5 separate regions of the Homo sapiens genome follow, and all the other regions are linked to region 2. The links are contacts of gene promoters, found by promoter capture Hi-C in blood cells and fetal thymus (Javierre and others, 2016). All regions are on one chromosome and are shown on one strand. The core of a region is centred on a gene start or on the middle of the fragment in contact, and the rest is flanking DNA. Distances in the headings are between cores, read along the strand shown. Region 1 holds the start of ZNF772 (zinc finger protein 772). Region 2 holds the start of ZNF544 (zinc finger protein 544). Region 3 holds the start of ZNF154 (zinc finger protein 154). Region 4 holds the start of ZNF416 (zinc finger protein 416). Region 5 holds the start of AURKC (aurora kinase C).

The links. Contacts are between HindIII fragments. The CHiCAGO score rates a contact against its expected background, and 5 or more counts as called.
Region 1: a contact is called between the fragment with the promoter of ZNF772 here and the fragment with the promoter of ZNF544 in region 2, in 4 of 17 cell types (non-activated CD4 T cells, fetal thymus, total CD8 T cells and 1 more). The highest score is 7.6, in non-activated CD4 T cells.
Region 3: the fragment with the promoter of ZNF154 here is called in contact with the fragment with the promoter of ZNF544 in region 2 in 1 of 17 cell types (neutrophils); the score reaches 5.9 in neutrophils.
Region 4: a contact is called between the fragment with the promoter of ZNF416 here and the fragment with the promoter of ZNF544 in region 2, in 4 of 17 cell types (activated CD4 T cells, non-activated CD4 T cells, erythroblasts and 1 more). The highest score is 6.5, in activated CD4 T cells.
Region 5: the fragment with the promoter of AURKC here is called in contact with the fragment with the promoter of ZNF544 in region 2 in 1 of 17 cell types (activated CD4 T cells); the score reaches 5.8 in activated CD4 T cells.

The regions. Positions count from the first base shown.
Region 1 is chr19:57,476,227-57,478,926 of GRCh38, forward strand. It overlaps ZNF772 (zinc finger protein 772), which reads right to left and starts at 1,340. Exons shown (of 4, transcript NM_001144068.2): 1 at 1,051-1,340; 2 at 408-446. The coding sequence starts at 1,083. RefSeq lists enhancers at 541-1,064, 655-1,854. The HindIII fragment of the contact is 1,804 bases long and covers 995-2,700 here.
Region 2 is chr19:58,227,471-58,230,170 of GRCh38, forward strand. ZNF544 (zinc finger protein 544) reads left to right here and starts at 1,444. Exons shown (of 7, transcript NM_014480.4): 1 at 1,444-1,476; 2 at 1,998-2,100. RefSeq lists an enhancer at 1,320-2,146. The HindIII fragment of the contact is 1,767 bases long and covers 342-2,108 here.
Region 3 is chr19:57,707,754-57,710,453 of GRCh38, forward strand. ZNF154 (zinc finger protein 154) reads right to left here and starts at 1,451. Exons shown (of 3, transcript NM_001085384.3): 1 at 1,186-1,451. The coding sequence starts at 1,218. RefSeq lists enhancers at 1,039-1,678, 1,422-1,551, 1,572-1,631. The HindIII fragment of the contact is 9,236 bases long and covers 1-2,700 here.
Region 4 is chr19:57,577,602-57,580,301 of GRCh38, forward strand. ZNF416 (zinc finger protein 416) reads right to left here and starts at 1,310. Exons shown (of 4, transcript NM_017879.3): 1 at 1,071-1,310; 2 at 456-497. The coding sequence starts at 1,103. RefSeq lists a silencer at 1,000-1,219. The HindIII fragment of the contact is 6,514 bases long and covers 1-1,633 here.
Region 5 is chr19:57,229,649-57,232,381 of GRCh38, forward strand. It overlaps AURKC (aurora kinase C), which reads left to right and starts at 1,375. Exons shown (of 7, transcript NM_001015878.2): 1 at 1,375-1,658; 2 at 2,094-2,139; 3 at 2,385-2,576. The coding sequence starts at 1,601. The HindIII fragment of the contact is 17,293 bases long and covers 1-2,733 here.

The DNA.
Region 1 (2,700 bases), core at 90-2,589, 750 kb before region 2:
CACTACCACTGTGAAATGAATATTCTCTTTTAACTCCCAATCTACATAATCATCTTTAAGCCATTTCAGGATGATTCCCGCCCCCTTGCTCTTGGTTCCCACCAGACATGACAGAGACCTGCAATTTCTTGAAAACTCCCTTCTCAGTCTCACCTCTAAGTATTTTGCACAGGCTGGTTCCTGTGCCTGGAACAACCTTCCAACCTTATTCCAATGGTTGGCAGAAATGGAAACCCCTCCATAAAACCCCTGGCCCGGAGTCAGGACCCTGGGCTTGGGGCTTCTCCAGAGTCCTCAGACCCAAGAGATCGGAGAGTAGCAGGAGAGTGTTCTATATAACACCACAATGCTGGAGAGCGTATTGGGTGGGGGTGGGATCGGTGAGAGCATGGACATTCTCCCCTCACCTGTATAGGGTCCACAATTACTTCTGAGTTCATGGGAACCTGTGGGGAAGAGGGAGACTATGCGAGTCAAGCAATCTTGAAGGAACCCCAAAGGCTCAACCCCATCCCATATTCCTACCCAGTTACAATGTGCCTGGGAGCTGAATGTCTACCCTCTGTGCTTCCATCTTCAAGGATACCTCTTAACTGTGTTAGCTCGGAACAGTGCTCATTATCCGCCCCCATGGCCAACAAGAGTCTGCCCTCCATGAGCAGTCTATGGAATACTTTTTAAACCCTCGGATTCTGGCTCTCCTCTGTTCAGAACCTTCCATGGCTCCCATCACCCTCAGAATAGAGACCCAGCTGCTCAGGATGATATTCCAGGTGCAATCACTTATAAAGCGCTCTGATCCTTTCAGACACTAAAGGCCCAGTTTTCCCAAATGCTCCAGCTGTGAACCATCTCTGAGCCTTTGCATACACTGGTCTCTCTGCCTGGAACGTCCTTCAACTCGTGCTGTCAAAATGGGTCCCAAACACGAGCGCCCCCACTGTTCTAGATACAGGGGCCTGAGCTGCAGTAACCCGAGGAATCGTTCATTCGAAGCTTTGGGATTCAGAGATGGGGGTCAGCGCGCAGACTCGCAGACGCAGCACCCACCTGTGCCGGGCCCATCGGCTCAGCCGCCGCCATCAGGCCTGTGGACTACGGAAGGGTGGCGACAAGTGCAGGAACCTGGGATCAGCTGTCCAGGGCCCAGCCCAGCGGCTAGGTCACTCAGGCAGCGCCACTGTCAAGCCTCAGGCCCACCTCTCTTCAGGGAAGAAGACACTCTCTCACGTTTTCCCTTTTCTGTCACCTCAGGTCTGACATTGCGTTCTGGAAACTAAACCAGTGGATTAATGGAAAAGCAAACAAAATGTCCACCCGAGGATGGTAGAGGAAGTCCCGCCCTGACGTTGGTGAGGACCAACGGAAACGCCTATTTCCTGGGTTTTCATTGGCCCAGAGCCGCCAAGTTTCCTGGGTAATGTAGTTCCCACGGCACCAACACTAGTAAGCGGCGTCTCGCTTCACCTCCAGGTTAAAAGCCCAGAGAAGACCGCCAGGGGCGCGTGGAAATGGTGTCCCTCGTCTCCAAGGCCCAGACGGAGCTTAGCTTCCTCTTGAAGGAGCCATATCTGTATTTCTGGTGAACGTCGTGTTTGACATCAAAGGAATGTTTAGAGACATGATTTCAGCCTTCCTTACGCAGAGAATGCTCATCAAAAAATAAAATGGACACACCATACACTGACGTCACTCAGATTTCTATGGCTGGAAGTTAACAAATATTGTTTTCAAATGCGTGTAGCCTGATGCTCCAGAGTTAGTTTGGCGAGCCTCAGCATTTTCTGTCAGGCACAAGAAAGAAAAGACTCCAGACACCATGATGTGGAACGTGGAGTGGGGATGTTTGGTGGCCTTGAAGTAAGTGAATAACCCTTCTGTCTGTTACCTCAGAAAATATTTATCCTGCTTATACAGCAGTGATTGTGTCAAACCCAACAAGTAATACTCTTGTTCAAGATAGTATTTCATACTCCATATACAGAGATGTATTCAATATTTTAAGTGTTTTACAAGTGTCTGAAAAGACAGAATTCATCAAATGTCATATGGCAATGAAAAGGGCAACATGAACACTTTCTGTAAAGAAGAAATAACCACCAAACTAGATGTCTATACACAACAAAATGTCTTTTATGGAAGTGTGATATAAAACTATTTGAAACCAAAAATGATAAATGTAATGGAAATACATTTACACAAAAAATAATGTTTAAAATAATACTCAAGGCCAAAGAAAGTTGATCTCAGGTGAAAAGTCTGCAATGAGAGAAGAAATGAAGATGAAAAGAAGTGCATCTTTTGATTAAAATAACAGCATATTACAGTGTAAAACATAAGTAGATATACTTATTGAGTTAGAATGATGGAATTCCCGTGCGTAACCTCAACTACATATAAATTGAAAGGAGGCTAGTTGCTCAAAGTTTTAAATTTTTTATATTTCCAAGTGGAAAGCAAATGTATTACAATCCTGTATGGCACGCTAATGTGTTAAACGTTTGTAATTTTTAGCCTAAATATAATAAATACAGTCAGCGTATATACTTTTCAAACTAGAAGAGGAAATGTTTGGAATATAAATAAATAATCAATAGAAAGGTAAAATAATAGTAAAATAAGTGGAAGAAGTGAGGCAAAGAAAAGCACAATGTAGGATATATTTAAACTGTCAACCTAAATAACAGAGATTCTTCAAAG
Region 2 (2,700 bases), core at 194-2,693:
GAGGTCAGGAGATCGAGACCATCCTGGCTAACAGGGAGAAACACCGTCTCTACTAAAAAAGAAAAATTACAAAAAATTAGCCGGGCGTGGTGGCGGGCGCCTGTAGTCCCAGCTACTCGGGAGGCTGAGGCAGGAGAAAGGCGTGAACCCGGAAGGCGGAGAGTGCCGTGGGCCTAGATCGTACCACTGCACTCCAGCCTGGTGGACAGAGCGAGACTCCGTCTCACAAAAAAAAAAAAAAAAAAAAAAAAAAAAAAAGACTGAGGGAACCTTCCCAGGAAACCCCTAGCAGCCTTATTTCTCCTTGGCCAGAATATCCTTGCCTAATTCACACAGCAAGAAGCTTGAGTCCATTCTGATTAGCTTAGAATCCATCAAGATCCTCCCTTAGGGAGTTAGATTCTAGATTTCCCGGAAGAATCTAAAAATTGCAGGGTCGTGCTAGCCAGGTATGAAAATAAGCAAGTAAAAAGATGATGACTGTTGGGTAAAGCTATCGACAAGGTCAGCTACAAAACAGTCAAGCCAAGGAAGGCTAGTCACAGATGCACCCCAGACACAAAAGCACAGTCCAGGAGCTGAGGGTGCCTGAGCCACAGTGGTTCCCGCCTACCTGGCCTTCGTAGGAAAGTTTCCTGTGGTCTCCCTCATTGAAGAGCCAGGACGGGTCAGGCGGTGGTGGGTCTCAGACATTGAGCCCCACAACGCACTGAGACTGAACATCAGACCATTTATAATAACAGAACTCTGTCCCACAACTTCTGCAGCAATAGGTACAAAACAGAACTTGGTCACTGCCAGCCTCCCTATTTTTTTCCCTGTCCCACTTAGGAGCTACCACAGAAAGCCAAATAGGCTCGACTGAGCGATCACCTAGGACGAATCGCCTCCAGTTAGCGTGCTTCCACCTTCCACTCGGAATGCTCCAAGCAGGGCACTCCCGGGGCTTTGTTTCTATCACTAGGACGCGTCCCCACGCCCAGGCTGTCCCTGAGTCCCTGCCACAGGCGCAGATGTTGGCGGGCGCCCTTGCCCCTGAGCTCCCGGTTAACGGCCTTGGACTGTTCTCATGGCTCAGTCTTGGTCTCTCTCCCCAGCAGGGCAAGGCGCCGGGAAGGCACCCGAGATGACAGCGCCGAGCCCCATAGGCGCTAGTCCCGCCCTGGACGCCGACCGCCGCCTCCACAGTCTCGGCTTCGGTTGCTGGATGAGAACCAGCGTGGCCCGTTTAAGGGGGAGGGGACAGGCGCTGCAAGGAGCAGAGCCGCGGGAAGCAACTCCCTAAGCCACAATGCTAGTCGCGAACACAGGAAAAAGCTCATCCCGCCGCCGCGGGGCCCCATGCTCCCGCCGGCAATGACTATGCCTGTGGGAGCAACGGCTACCGGCGCGCGGCCTTCTGGGAGTTGTTTGTTGCGCGGAGCGCGGGCACGTCCGCCGGCCACCGGAAGCACCGCCATTGGCCGGTGCGTGCAGGTGAGTCTGGCGGCCTCAAGGTTGGCTCGGAGGTTTCACTGTTAGCCGGGTGCGGCCGGAGCGCAGGACCAGGCCAGAGCCGCCCCAAGTGATCTGGGCGTGCCGGAGAAACGAGCAGGGCCTGCGGGGGTCCCTCATGCGGCGAGGCCGAGCAAGGGCAGGGGCCTGATGGGATCGGGATCTCTCCGGCCTCAGGGACGGGGAAGGCCGGTCCAGTCAGGTTTCCCCTGCAGGAGCGCCCGGCTGGGTCTGAGCTTGTCGGGAGGCTCTCCTGCTGCAGAGCTGGGAGGGAACTTATAGTACCTCGCAGGTACGGGCAGGGGTGGAACTGGGTGGGACTGGGTGGGACTGGGTGGGACTGGGTGGGACTGGGTGGGCCCTCCCGACAGAGGGTGCCTGGGTCGAGGGCTGCAGGGGCGGGGGATTCAGGCTGGCGTCTGGAGCTCTGGGGCTGCCGACCCAGCGGGCCTCTCCCGGCTCCTTTTTCCTCCCTCAACTCATCTTCTGCGGCTTATCCACAGGTGGCAGCCAAGAGCCTCCTGGCACAGCGGCACCAGGCAGGTGACGCCTATTGGACCCCAGAGGTCATCCCAGCTCCAGACGTGGACACATTTTCTTCCAATGGTACGTGAAGCTTGAACCTTGCAGAGAACATGTGTATTTTCCAAGTGAACAGAAGATTAAGGCCAGTCCACGCAGGGCAGGGGTAACTGGGGTGTTGGGGGCCTGCACTGGTTAAGCGATGCTGGTGCACCCCATAGAGAGACTACAGAGGTGAACAGGATGGGATGTGTATGTAACGCCTGTAAGTTAGGGATCGGGGTTCCATTTGTGTTGGGTGATATTTGATGGGGACCGTACAAGGCAGTGCTAATGAGGAAGGCATGGGGTTGGATTTCAAGAGTCTAAGGGAGTAGGGAAACATCTGATTGTGGAAATGACTCCGTGTAAGGAGGGATGCCAAAAGACAGGAAGGAGTGGAGGAAGACTGTGTTTCTGTTTCCAGCGTGGAGCCAGGGTAGAAGTCACAGTGCAAGGAAGATGTGGTATGCCTGGTCAGTCTCTGCATGGGAGTTGAGGAGCATGTGGGTGACATGGCTGAATGTGGAGGAGGGAATGGCAGTGGCAGGAAGCCCAGGAGGTTTGGGCTGGACACGTAACCTGGAGCAGATTGGAAACGTCACCCCACAAGCAGGGAAGGAGAAAACTGGAAAAGGAAAGAGA
Region 3 (2,700 bases), core at 201-2,700, 520 kb before region 2:
TTAGTTTTACTAAGCACTTGCGCCTCCTGATACCAGTGCCAGAGATAACCTTTCACAAGTTTCCACTGGCTGACAAAAATGGGAACACCTCAGTATAACCCCTGTAACCTCTGGCATGGACTTAAGAGCCCTGGGCTTGGAATTTCTCCAGGGCACCAGACCCAGGATTGGGGTAACAGCACTTAAGAATACTAGGAAACCACAATCCCAAGAACATGGGGGTAGAGGCTACTGAGGGACCGAACACTCTCCACTTCCCTATGTGAGTTCCATACGCCCTTCTACAACTGGGAGAACCAGGGAAAGAGGAATGCATCCCTGGTGAGGCTAGATGAGCTCAAGCCTCCCTGTAGCCCTGCCTGGCCCTGAACTCAGGCTGGCTGTTTTACTTTCTGGTCTCAGTGCTGTCACCTCTTGCCAACTGTAGGGCAATGAAAAAAAGATGTAGCCTCCCACTATCTCAATGTCCTCATCGCCCCATCGCTGCTCTTCCTGTGAACAGTCTTTGGAAAAGTTTTTAAACCCTAACATAGGGCGGGCACGGTGGCTCACGCCTGTAATCCCAGCACTTTGGGAGGCCGAGGCAGGAGGATCACTTGTCAGGAGTTCCAGACCAGTCTGGCCAAAATGGTGAAATCCCGTCTCTACTAAAAATACAAAAAATTAGCCGGACGTTGTAATCCCAGCTGCAGGCTTGTAATCCCAGCTGCTGGGGAGGCTGAGGCAGGAGAATCGCTTGAACCCGGGAGTCGGAGGTTGCAGTGACCCGAGATCGCGTCATTGCACTCCAGCCTGGGCGATAAGAGCGAAACTCCGTCTCAAAGAAAAAAAAACTAACATAAATGGCGTCCCTCCTTTGTTCAGAACTCTCCGTGGCTTCTAGCATCCTCACAATGACAGTACAACCCTAGGAGTAACTCCGCCTCATATTCTTCGTTCCCTGCAGAAAACAGCTTTCCGAATTCTCCTGGCTCAGTCGCGCCTCAACCTTTGCACGCGCCGGTTCCTCCGCCTGTCACGCTCTCCCACACCTCGTCACACGCAGTGTCAAAAAAAGGGCCCCACCCACGAACGCCTCAGTGTCCCCGACCCTGGGCAGCGGGGACTCGAGCAGGCGCCCCTCACTGATGGCTTTAGAACGTGGGTGGGGGAAGGTGTGTGAGGACGGGAAGACGCCGCACTCACCTGAGTTGGCGTCCTCAGAGTGGCCGCTGCCATCAGACTCTGCGGGTAGAGCTGGGCCGGGAGCGACGGGCGACATTGGTAGGGACCCGGGGACAGCGGTCCCTATCCCAGGCCTGACGTGGGTCCCCCAGGGCGGCGTCGCCAAGGCTTAGACGCTTTCGTGCAGGAGGGACGACGACTCCCCTCACGCCTTCGTGGCCCCAACTCGGCGCTCTGCTATCTCTGATCCGGTGAACACACCTCAGAGAAGCTAAAATGGCCGCCACGAAGAGGCCCCCCCAAAAGTCCCGTCCTTTCTTTTTGTGACTCTCAAGGAAAGTCGGTTTTCTGAGCTCTTACTGGCTTAGTAGCGTGGCGTTCAACGCAGAGCATTCTAGGTAATGTAGTTTTCATAGATCCCGAGGTGGGTGCCGGGGACCCTTTGCACCAACCTCTTGGAGTAAAAGCGAAGCTCCAGGGCGCTGGGCGATGAGAAATGGCTTATCCAAGTCCTAGGGCAGTGGAGGGACTTCGCCCTTTCTTAAATGGGTCGTAATCAGACAGCATATTAGAGGTGCCATCTGCAACTGATCACCCAAGTGTTTGGGGAATATTATTTCAAACTTCATAAAGTTCAGCAGGCTCCCAGAGGCTAAAATTATTATCAGACGCTCCCTAAGGCTGCCAATCCAAATATGTACATCATTCCATAGAGCCATTCAGACACGAAATATATCCACTAGTAGGGAAGCTAATAAACATTACCATATAAGTTTATTCCTTTTTTTTTTTTTTTAAGACAAAGTTTCCCTCTGTCCCCCAGGCTGGAGTGCAGCGGCGCCATCTGGGATCACTGCAACCTCCGCCTCCCGGGTTAATCGATTCTCGTGCCTCAACCTTCCAAGTAGCTGGGACTATAGGCGCGCGCCACCACGCCAGGCTAATTTTTTGTATTTTCAGTAGAGACAGGGTTTCACTATGGTGGTCCCAAATTCCTGGCCCCAGGTGATCTGCCCGCCTCGGCCTCTCAAAGTGCTGGGATTACAGGCGTAAGCCACCGTACCCAGCCTCTATCATATTACATTTCAAATGTATGCACTCCGAAGCATTGAAGTCAGTCTGTGCACTTTTGGTCAGGGACAGGTGAAAAACTACTTCAGATAGTGGCATGATAGTGCTTCTAGAAGATAGAAGAGAAATGTTAGATCACCTTGAAACAGTAGTACAAAGGTAGAATTCTGTCTGATTCCAACAGAAAACATCTTTTGCCTGCATAGTCAATTATTGTGTCCAATTACTGTGTCCAGTCAATAACTGTGTCCAATTCACTGAGCAACGCTTTTATCCATTTCATAATTCTTACTTGATATCTGAGATATATTCCTTCTAGAAGTCTAACATCAATCTCAAAAAACAATGAAAGAAATGCTACTTTGATAAGAGACAAAGGGGAGAGGTGGGACTTCTTAATCAGAAAGCCGGTGAAATGCACTTGAAGGAAGTGAGAAATGAGCCATGTGGGTATTTTTAGAATAA
Region 4 (2,700 bases), core at 60-2,559, 650 kb before region 2:
CTCTCAGCTTGGCCACACACAGGGAACCTGATGAGACCTGGATCAGATCACATACCTCCTCTGCCCCCAAACTGTCATTGCTCATCACACACTCCAGAAGAAACACCCGACAACTGACAGCCATTTTTTGTCTGATTCCTGCATCCCAGCTTTCAGTTCCCATGAGAAAGAAAACAGCTGTAGTTTCCTAAACCAGCTCAGCCTGACCTTCAAGCACTTGCTCATCTGGTATCTAAGCCTGAGACAACGTTCCACACCTTACTTTACTGGTTCCCAGCAATAGGAACCATTCTATACCAGCTTCCAGCCTGGATGTATGACCCTGGGACTGATGTTTGTTCAGGATTCCTAGAACCAAGGACCCAAAGAGTGCCAAGAGAAGAGTCCCAGAACACAATCTCAGAGACAAACACTGGGGTCAGCATCAGTGAGGGCCCGAAACACTCTCCACTCACCTGTGTAAAGCCCATAAGTTTAGCTTCTGCAGTCACGGGAACCTGCGGGAAGAGGAAGGCTATGAGAGGCAGGTAACTATGGTGGAAGCTCCATGGGCTGATGCCTCCTTGTTTCCCTGCGCAGCCCTGGAGCCAGGTGACTTGGTGATGACTAAATTATTATTGCTCCTCAGTTCCGTGTGACTCTTACCTGCTGTGGGACCTTGCACAAGGACTCAACTTCCCTGTGCCTCGGTGTTATCCCCCTTCCAGGCTGTTCCAACTCTGAGTAACTTTAGAAAAAATTTGAAAAGTCTAACTCAGACCATGTGCCTCGTCTGTTCACAACCACCCATGGCTCTCAGCGTCTTGAAAAGAAAGAGCCTCATTTTACCATTCGGGCGTGAACGTTACTGGCTCAATCGTCCCAGCAAGATTCACAGAAACCGGCCCCTCCGCCTGCCACACCCTCCACAGCCCACGACACCAGGCTTGTAAATGGGAGCCCCACCCGCGAGGGCCTCATAGTCCTGGACTCTAGGGTCGGGCTGCAGGGACGCAAGCAGGCGCCCCTCATGCAGGGTGTTGGATTTCCGGCGGAGAGGGCAGGTGAGGCCCGGGAGACGCAGCACTCACCGAAGTCGAATCCCTAAGCACGGCCGCCGCCATCGGATTGTGAGCGGAGCGGGGCCGGGAGCGGCGGGCGACCCGGGGCGGGAACCCAGGCACGGCTGCCACCAGCGCCAGCGACCCACCGGCTGATGCGCAGCGGGGCGACCCCCGCTCTGTGCCGGAGGCAGCGTTTCTAACTCAGGCGGCGTGGGCCGAGGTAGAGAACCACCAAAATTACCATCTCGGAGCGGTGCCGGAAGTCCCGCCTTACCGTATGCAACAAACGGAGACAGGTCCGTTCCTGAACGTTGATTGGCTCCGCGTCTTTGCAGCTTGGCGCTCGGCATTATGGGTAATGTAGTTCTCAGAAGCCCAGGGTTCCGGTGCCCTCCCTGAGATTCACCCGGAACAAGGGCTAAGCGGCCCGCGGAGGGCGCTAGGAAAAGGCGCGACACCAAGAGCGAGACAGGGACTTGCTGCTCCTTAAAGGGGCCGCTGGCCGATTTCCGCAGTCCCATACCCACTGAAGGGAGTGTCTGGGTTAAGATAAGAGGTTGTAGAGACCAAGGTTCTTATTAAGCAGATGAAGCTTTCACGCAGCAGGCTTCAGAGGGAATAGATTGTAAATGTTTCCTATCAGACTTTGAAAGGTGCCAGACTCTTAATTCTTTCCTGGACCATGAAAATAAAAAAACCCTGGAGAGGAAAGGGGATTCTCAGCAAAATGCAGATTCCACAAGACACACCTTTGCAGGGCCTCTTCAAAATATGTCAAATAAATAAAGTTTAGAGTAAAATACTTCAATTCCTTTCAGGGCCTGCTATCTGTCATGTAATGCTATACTACAATCAGGCTGGAATTCACTGTCTTATTGCTACAAGAAGTCTTAAAATCTCTGTTTTAATGTTAATGCTGGTCAGTTGTGCCTGAATTCCAAGGGGAGGAGGGCAAGTCTGACCCTCACTTCCCATCACGTCCTGAACTAGTTTTTCAGATTAACTTTGGAATGCCCTTGGCCAAGAGGAAGGATGCATTCAGATGGTTGGGGGGCTGGGAATTTTATTTTTGGTTTACACTTCTCATGCCTCTTGGAATCTCTGAACCACATACAACGGCCATTTGTTGAGTAAAAGCTTCCAATGCAGGAAACTGTCTCTTTCAGCCTCATGCTATACACCATTAAAACAGTAATTACTGGCAATAAGACTGGGCTTTCTTAAACATACAGGATCTCACAGACCATAAGCCTATGATCCTTCATACCAGCTGCCCATAATACTTTTGGTTTTGGAAGCAGCACCCCATAACCTCAGCATGGCTACCAAGGCCTCCTTAAGACAGGGTAGAATGAATAAGATCTAGTATTTGATAGCACAGTAGAGAGACTACAGTCAACAGTAATTTATTGTACATTAAAAACAACTAAAAGAGTATTATAACTAGAATGTTTGTAACACAAAGAAATGATAAATGCTTGTGTACCCTGATATGATTATTACACATTGTATGCCTGTATCACAATATCTCACGTATCCCATAAATATACATACATACTATGTACTCATAAAACTAAAAATTTTAAAAGACAGATAAATGGCAAGCAGGTAGATGAAAACATGCTTAACATCATTGATCACTATAAAAATGCAAATC
Region 5 (2,733 bases), core at 125-2,624, 1.0 Mb before region 2:
GTAATCCCAGCTACTCAGGAGGCTGAGGCAGGAGAAATGTTTGAACCTAGGAGGCGGAGGTTGCATGAGCTGAGTTCGAGCCACTGCACTCCAGCCTGGGTGACAGAGCAAGACTCCGTCTCAATAAACAAACAAACAGACAGGTTTGGGAAAGCCTCTGAGAAAGGAATGGTTGGCCTGAGCTAAGCGCCATTACCCTGATCCACCTATTGTAACCACCTAATGGGTTCATTATTTTCCCTGCTCCCCAGATAGAGTCGACTTATCAAGACAGGATAATTGCAATAAAGGGTTTAATTCACATCAATCGAGCTAAATGAGAGACCAGAGTTTTATTACTCAAATAGGTCTCCCCAAATATTTTGAGACGAGCTTTTTTGTTTTTGGGTTTTTTTGTTTTTGTTTTTGTTTTTTTTGAGACAGAGTCTCGTTCTCCTTCTGTCGCCCAGGCTGGAGTGCAGTGGCATGATCTTGGCTCACTGCAACCTCCGCCTCCAGGGTTCAAGCGATTCTCTTGCCTCAGCCTTTTGAGTAGGTGGGATTACAGGCATGCGCCACCACACCCGGCTAATTTTTGTAGTAGAAACGGGGTTTCGCCCTGTTGGCCAGGCTGGTCTCGAACTGCCTACCTCAGGTGATCCGCCCGCCTCGGCCTCCCAAAGTGCTGGGATTACAGGCATGAGCCATCACGCCAGGCCTTCAATTATATTTCTGCAAGATATGTTCCCTGTCTAAAAGAATTCAATTTTTAATGTTTTTGAAACTTATGTGTTTGCTAAACAAATACGTGGGGGCTGATTTTACGATCTGAGGCCAAATCCACAAACTGATTACAGGGTCCAACAAATATTTGGCGAGTGGGAGGAGAGGGGTAAGTGAGCTGGACTGGTGGCGTCCTGGCTGTGAGCAGGCACAGCCGCAGGCTTCAGGGAGCCCCATCGCGGTGACCCTGGAGAGTGGCCTGAATCGGACGTGACCTTGAAGCAAGGTGGTTTTGGGGTCGCCGGCTGCACAAGGCGCGAAGTGGTTTAGGGTCACGGGCTGCACGAGGCTCCAGCACGTCAGGAGTGGGCGTCTGTTCATTCCCACGTGCATCGCGGCTCTCTCCTAGTTGACGCATGCACACCCCGTGGGTGTATGCGTTGTTCATTCCCACAACGGCCATCACCACCTCTCCGCACCCTCTGTCTCCTTCCTTCTCGGGCCTCACCCCTGGCCCTCGCTTTCAGTGCCCAGCCCGGACCGCAGCACTCCAGTTCCGCCCCAACCCGGGAACCCTGGACTGAGGCTCCCGTTTCTGTCCTTTCTATTGGGCGCACTTCCGATGGCGTCAGGAATTTCAGCCAATAGGAGCCAGCCAGGAAGTACCTCTCTGAGCGGTTGGTGCCGGGTATAAAAGAAGGCCGCGCAGCCACGGCTGCTCACGACGCCGCGGATCCCGAAGCCTGTGTAGCAGTGAGACATCAGTGAGGCTGCAGGACGAGCAGGATTGGAAGCGCCCCGGCCAGAAAGTGACCCCCCACCCCTTTCAGGACCCTGTGAACGGGAACAGCCATCCAGAGGGTTCAGGAAGGCGTCCGCGCCCTCACCTCTTCTCCCCATGAGCTCCCCCAGAGCTGTGGTGCAGCTGGGCAAAGCTCAACCTGCAGGCGAAGAGTGTGAGAGCCAGCGCCAGAGAAAGGACGCAGGGAAGGCTGGGGACTGGGCCAGGGGTCGGGTGCACAGAAGACACATGTGTTGACATCTCCCCTCCCTCTCCTCCTCCCCAACGCTCTTCTTTTCTCCCCACTCCCTCCCTTCCCTCCAATTCTTTCTTTCACCTCTCCCTCCCCTACTCTCTCCTCCCCTTCCTTTCTCTCTGCCTCTTCTTCACCTCCTCCTCCCCTCCCTACCTTACCTTACTCTTTCTTCTTCCCCTTACCTCTCCCTCCCCCTCTCCCTGCCTTCCCCTTCCCTCTCTTTCTCTCCTCCCCTTCTTCCCCTCACCTCTCGCTCCCTATTCCCTTCTCTACTGTTCTCCTCTCCTCTCTTTCTCTCCCCTTCTCCTTCCCTCCCCTCTCCCTTCCTATCTCCCTCCTCCTCCTCTCTTTCAGTGGCTACAGCAAACCAAACAGCCCAGCAGCCCAGCAGCCCAGCCATGTGAGTCCCTTGGGATTGGTATCTGGAAAAGGAAGGAAGGTGGGACGTGGGGATGAAGAACAGACTGGGTGTGTGGGGTGCTGGCTCCTGGGAACGAGAACTACTGATAGGGCTGGGTCTGTGTGAGAAGGGAAAGCGGCAGAGGAAGGATACAATGAAAGAGGAAGGGGAGCATTGGCATCCCTGACTTTCCCTCCGCCTACCCTACCTCCCAAGCTGAGGCTTTTTTCTTCCTCTCCTGTCAGGCGGCGCCTCACAGTCGATGACTTTGAAATCGGGCGTCCCCTGGGCAAGGGGAAATTTGGGAATGTGTACCTGGCTCGGCTCAAGGAAAGCCATTTCATTGTGGCCCTGAAGGTTCTCTTCAAGTCGCAGATAGAGAAGGAAGGACTGGAGCACCAGCTGCGCCGGGAAATTGAGATCCAGGCTCATCTACAGTAAGGACAGTCTCTGCTTCCTCTTTCATCTTTGACGTCTGAGCCCAGCATTTTCCCCAAATACTAACCCCAAGTAAACCCTGCACTTGTACCTTGAAGACTTCTCTGCAGTTCATTCCATTTACACTACCTCCTACCCTGGGTCAGACACTCGAAT